Regions from separate parts of the Homo sapiens genome. Here region 2 is linked to region 1. The links are contacts of gene promoters, found by promoter capture Hi-C in blood cells and fetal thymus (Javierre and others, 2016). All regions are on one chromosome and are shown on one strand. The core of a region is centred on a gene start or on the middle of the fragment in contact, and the rest is flanking DNA. Distances in the headings are between cores, read along the strand shown. Region 1 holds the start of APOA5 (apolipoprotein A5). Region 2 overlaps CEP164 (centrosomal protein 164).

What was found. Contacts are between HindIII fragments. The CHiCAGO score rates a contact against its expected background, and 5 or more counts as called.
Region 2: a contact is called between a fragment that was not itself captured here and the fragment with the promoter of APOA5 in region 1, in 1 of 17 cell types (naive CD4 T cells). The highest score is 6.5, in naive CD4 T cells.

What each region holds. Positions count from the first base shown.
Region 1 is chr11:116,790,504-116,793,652 of GRCh38, reverse strand. It overlaps APOA5 (apolipoprotein A5), which reads left to right and starts at 1,774. Exons shown (of 3, transcript NM_001371904.1): 1 at 1,774-1,841; 2 at 1,956-2,067; 3 at 2,586-3,149. The coding sequence starts at 1,793. The HindIII fragment of the contact is 6,000 bases long and covers 840-3,149 here.
Region 2 is chr11:117,339,010-117,341,894 of GRCh38, reverse strand. All of the region lies in intron 3 of CEP164 (centrosomal protein 164), which reads right to left. Among named protein-coding and RNA genes, the nearest start is that of CEP164, 13 kb to the right of the region's middle. The HindIII fragment of the contact is 3,559 bases long and covers 1-2,885 here.

The sequences.
Region 1 (3,149 bases), core at 525-3,024:
TTCTCTTGCATATATATATACACATATATATCAGCTAAGTGTAGCCATGTGACTAACTTGTGGCCAATGGGATGTCAGTATGAGTGGTAAGAGCAGTATCTTGTATATATATATGTGTATATATACACACACACATATATATACATATATGTATGCAAGAATATAAAATATACATGTGTGTGTGTATATATATACACACATATATATGTCCCTTGCAGCCAAGTCTAATTCTAACTAATACAAACTAACTCTAAAAAATGAATATATATTCACCAGGGGATAGGCTATTTCAAGCAGAGGGAAGCCTGTATAAAGGCTCAGGGAATGCCGTGGTTTTATGTGGCAGCAGATGAGACTGGAAATGAGTCAGGATGAGCCACAGTGGAGGATGAATTAAATGGGCAGGAGTGTGGTAGAAAGACCTGTTGGAGGCTATGAATGCAATCAAGGTGACAGACAACTGGTGCAATGATGGTAGTGGAAATGGAGGAGAGGGGATTGATTCAAGATGCATTTAGGACCAAGAATCGGGAGCTTGTGAACGTGTGTATGAGTACTGTAGACGGAGTGGGTGTGTCATCAGAGAAGATCTGAGCATTTGGGCTTGCTCTCCTCAGAGGCCCTGCGAGTGGAGTTCAGCTTTTCCTCATGGGGCAAATCTCACTTTCGCTCCAGTTCCTGGGGCTCAGAGTCCCTGGCCCAGATGCCTCTTGCCATCTCATCTTCACCCTGCCTGGCTTCCCTTGCTTGTTCCAGGATTGTTTCATAAAGAGGGATGTGGTTGGTCTTTAACCCTATGAATGCTGGCTGAGGATGCCTGCGGAACCTGTAGTGAAGCTTTCAGGGGCTGCTCGGGTTCTGGCTGGTAGGTGAACACTGTCCATCTTGCCGGCTGGGACACAGTGACTCTGGGTAGTTGTGTAAGAGAGGGGCCCTTGGCAGACAAACAGGTTCTTCTCTGTTGGTGGGCCAGCCAGCAGGTCAGTGGGAAGGTTAAAGGTCATGGGGTTTGGGAGAAACTGGGTGAGGAGTTCAGCCCCATCCCCCGTAAAGCTCCTGGGAAGCACTTCTCTACTGGGGCAGCCCCTGATACCAGGGCACTCATTAACCCTCTGGGTGCCAGGGAAAGGGCAGGAGGTGAGTGCTGGGAGGCAGCTGAGGTCAACTTCTTTTGAACTTCCACGTGGTATTTACTCAGAGCAATTGGTGCCAGAGGCTCAGGGCCCTGGAGTATAAAGCAGAATGTCTGCTCTCTGTGCCCAGACGTGAGCAGGTGAGCAGCTGGGGCAGAGGGATGGGGGTCACAGTCCTAAGGGAGGGCATTGCAGGTGGCCTCAGGGGAGAGCCTGGGGTGGCCCCTAAGACGTCCTCTTGGAACATTTTGGCAGAGTTGCCTCTTCGCCCTCATTATGGCTCAGTTTTTCCACCATGAAATGGGAGGGAGGGAGACAGGTGGGCAGGGGAGAGGTGGTAGAAGTGGCCTAGAGAACTGTTCCTGGGGTCTGGGACCTTTGCGAAGGGGTTAGAGCACCACGCTCCCTGCTATGTGACTGAGGTAGCAAGAGCACGCCCTCTTCCCATGTCTGAGGAAGACACCCTAGCCTCCTTGACTCACCTAGGTCAGTCCTCTTGAGCCCCAACAGCTCTGTGCTCCCCAGCCCAAGGAAGGGGTAACAGGATTTCGGGCAGTTGCCCCTGCAGAGGCCCCCTGGGCAAGTCCCCTGCGCCATGTCCCTTCGTCTCCTTCTTCCCCTAACCAGGCCTCCCTCCACCTGTCTTCTCAGAGCAGGTAATGGCAAGCATGGCTGCCGTGCTCACCTGGGCTCTGGCTCTTCTTTCAGGTGGGTCTCCGACCCTGACTTCAACGTGGGGGTGTGGGTGGAGGCTGGCCAGAGGGCCCTGTCCACCCTGGGGGAGGAGAGCCCAGGCCCTGATTACCTAGTCCCTCTCCACAGCGTTTTCGGCCACCCAGGCACGGAAAGGCTTCTGGGACTACTTCAGCCAGACCAGCGGGGACAAAGGCAGGGTGGAGCAGATCCATCAGCAGAAGATGGCTCGCGAGCCCGCGTGAGTGCCCAGGGGAAGGGGTGTAGGCGAAGGGAGGAGACAGCTGGGCCATGCCATGATGACCTGCCTCTGCTGCCTCAACCTCTGTGGCCGCTGCTGGGACAGAGGAAAGGAGCGGTGCTAGCTCTGTCTGCAGATCCCGGCCATCCTGGGCTCTTTAGCGCCCTCTGCCTGCAGCCCCCGCCTTGACAACTCCGTAGCTGTTGCCCCCTTGCTCACTGAGGCGCGGGACCTGGGATCAATCGGGAGGACGCCCGCTGCAGTCCCCAGAATCAAAGGATGATGTGGCGCATCTATGTTTCTTTGGAGAGTGTTGTAGGTCTGGATTTGTATGGGCAATGTGTTTGTGCTTCGTGCGTGAGTTGTTACTGGCCAGGGCTAGGACAAGAGCCCTCGACCCTGGGGCCAACGCCCTGCGTCCTTGGTTCCCCCAGAGGATCAGTGCGCGATGACTTGGGGACAAAGGAGATGATGGAGGCTAGCAGTCTGACGGCCTGGATATCTGTCCCCTTCTCCAGGACCCTGAAAGACAGCCTTGAGCAAGACCTCAACAATATGAACAAGTTCCTGGAAAAGCTGAGGCCTCTGAGTGGGAGCGAGGCTCCTCGGCTCCCACAGGACCCGGTGGGCATGCGGCGGCAGCTGCAGGAGGAGTTGGAGGAGGTGAAGGCTCGCCTCCAGCCCTACATGGCAGAGGCGCACGAGCTGGTGGGCTGGAATTTGGAGGGCTTGCGGCAGCAACTGAAGCCCTACACGATGGATCTGATGGAGCAGGTGGCCCTGCGCGTGCAGGAGCTGCAGGAGCAGTTGCGCGTGGTGGGGGAAGACACCAAGGCCCAGTTGCTGGGGGGCGTGGACGAGGCTTGGGCTTTGCTGCAGGGACTGCAGAGCCGCGTGGTGCACCACACCGGCCGCTTCAAAGAGCTCTTCCACCCATACGCCGAGAGCCTGGTGAGCGGCATCGGGCGCCACGTGCAGGAGCTGCACCGCAGTGTGGCTCCGCACGCCCCCGCCAGCCCCGCGCGCCTCAGTCGCTGCGTGCAGGTGCTCTCCCGGAAGCTCACGCTCAAGGCCAAGGCCCT
Region 2 (2,885 bases), core at 349-2,848, 550 kb before region 1:
TCAGCAATGTTGACAGTTAACTGAAACCTGCATAAGTGAAAGGAGGCAGCCATGCAGAGCACTGGAGAAAGAGCATTCAGGCAGAAGAAGCACAGGTGCAAAGGACCTGTGACAACCAGTAGCTCTGGGGACTGTCAGAAAGCCAGTATAGCCAGGTATGGTGATGCACACCTGTAATCCCAGCACGTTGGGAGACTGAGGTGGGTGGATTGCTTGAGCCCAGGAGTTCAAGACCAGCCTGGGCAACACGGCAAGACCCCATCTCTACCAACACAATACAAAAATTAGCCAGGCCTGATGGTATGCACTTGTGGTCCCAGCTACTTGGGAGGCTGAGGTGGGAGAATCACTTGAGCCCAAGGGGTCAAGGCTTCAATAAGCCAAGTTCACACCACTGCACTCCAGTCTGAGTGACAGAGTGAAACTCGGTCTCAAAAAAAAAACAAACAAACAACAAAAAAAGGCCAATGTGACTGGTAGAAAGAGCCAGGTCACAGAGCCCTGCAATCCCATCAAGGGTGTTATGTTGAGTATACTGGGGATGCGGGGGGACTAAAAGCACAGCCCTGACATGATCTGCTTTATAAACAGTAAGGCTAATTAGGAAGCTACTGAGATAGCCCAGGAAGAGAAAATGGTGGCTTGAGGTTAGAATGCCTACACCTGGACTGGGCCGAAGAAAGTTTTTATAAACATCCTTAGAAAAACCTTTGACTCCATTTACAACAGCAACCAAATGTATACAAATTTAAGAAACAGGCCATTCATGGCTAGGTGCAGTGACTCACACCTGTAATCCCAGCACTTTGGGAGGCCGAGGCAGGTAGATCACCTGAAGTCAAGAGTTCAAGACCAGCCTGACCAATATGGTGAAACCCTGTCTCTGCTAAAAATACAAAAATTAGCTGGGTGTGGTGGCGTGCACCTGTAGTCCCAGCTACTTGGGAGTCTGAGACAGAAGAATCACTTGAACCTGGAGGTTGCAGCGAGCCGAGCTCACGCCATTGCAGTCCAGCCTGGGCGACAAAGTGAGACTCCGTCTCTAAAGAGAAAGTAGGAAAGAAAGAAAGAGGCCAGTCGTAGTGGCTTATGTCTGTAATCCCTGCACTTTGGGAAGCCCAGACAGGAGGATCACTTGAACCCAGGAGTTCAAGACTAGCCTGGGCAACACAGTGAGAGCCTATCCCTACAAAAAAATTTATTTTAATTAGCCAGACACATGACATGCACCTGTAGTTCTAGCTACATGGGAGGATCACCTGAGCCCACGAGTTCAAGGCTGCAGTGAGCTATGATGGAGCCACTGCATACTAGCCTGGGTGACAGAGTAAGACTGTCTCTAAAAACAAAAATATGGAAAACAAAAAAAACACCCTATGCTATAAGCAAAGTCCAGCATTTAACATGAGATCCATGTATTCCTAGAGATGCAAGAATTGTGAACCCTGCTCTCAAGTCCATGAACCACCTGAATTATAAGCAAACTTTGTATGCCTAGATCATAACTCGTCAGAATTTCAAAGAAACTTTCACTCCAAATAATTGCATAGTGCTTCAAAGTGCAGGCCCTATGGCCAGGCACAAGTGGCTCATGCCTGTAATCCCAATCCTCTGGGAGGCCAAGACGGGGAGATCACTTGTCAGTTTGAGACCAGCCTCGCCAACATGGCAAAACCCCGTCTCTGTTAAAAATACAAAAAAATTACCCAAGCACAGTGGCACGCATCTGTAGTCCCAGCTACTAGGGAGGCTAAGGCAGGAGATTCACTTGAACCTGGGAGGCGGAGGTTGCAGTGAGCAGAGATCCCGCCACTGCCCTCCAGCCTGGGCGACAGAGTGAAACTCCATCTCAAAAAAAACAAACTAACAAAAAAAAACAAAGAACAAAGTACAGGCCCTAGAGCTTGAATACCTGGAGGTGGATTCTAGCAACACCACTTAGAATAGAACTGTATATCCACAGGAAGTTAATCTTTCTGTGCCTTGATTTCCTCATCTGTAAAATGGGGATAATAATAGTACCTAACTCATGGAGTTGCAGTGAGGGTTGAAAAGGTAATACATGGGCCAGGCATGGTGTCTCCCGCCTGTAATCCCAGCACTCTGGGAAGTGGAGGTGGGAAGATCACTTGAGGTCAGTTTGAGACCAGCCTGGCCAACACTGCAAAACCCCTTCTCTACTAAAAATACAAAAATTAGTTCCCCAGGTGTGGTGGTGGGCACCTGTAGTTCTAGCTACTCAGGAGGCTGAGGCATGAGATTCGCTTGAACCCGGGAGAGAGAGGTTGCAGTGAGCCAAGATCATACCACTGCATTCCAGCCTGGGTGACAGAGTGAGACTCTGTCTCAAAAAAAAAAAAAAAAAAAAAAAACAAAAAACAAAGGAAAAGGTAATAAGGTAATACATGCAAAGTGCTTAAAACAGACGCTGGCACATAATAAGTTATGTTGTTATTGTTACTAATAATGTTATTGTTGTTTAAAAAAACACTGCTCTAAGTTCGTGCTTAGGAAATTGGGTTTCCCCTGGTCTCAGAACACACTGTATTTAGATACCCCCTACTATGTTTCCATTTAAATCTAATCACTGCTCTAACCCAAAGACAGCAAACTTTTTCTGTAAACAACCGGAGAGTAACTATCTTACCCTTTGTGGGTCATATACCTCTCTTAACAGCCACATATCTCTGCAGCTGTAGCATAGAAGCAGCCACACACAATACATAAACCATTGTGGCTGTTTTCCAATGAAGGTGTATTTACAAAAATAGGCAAGTAGCCAGGCAAGGTGGCTCACGCCTGTAATCCCAGCACTTTGGGAGCCGGAGGCAGGCAAACCGCTTGAGGTCGGGAGTTCGAGACCAGCTTGTCCAACATGGTGAAAC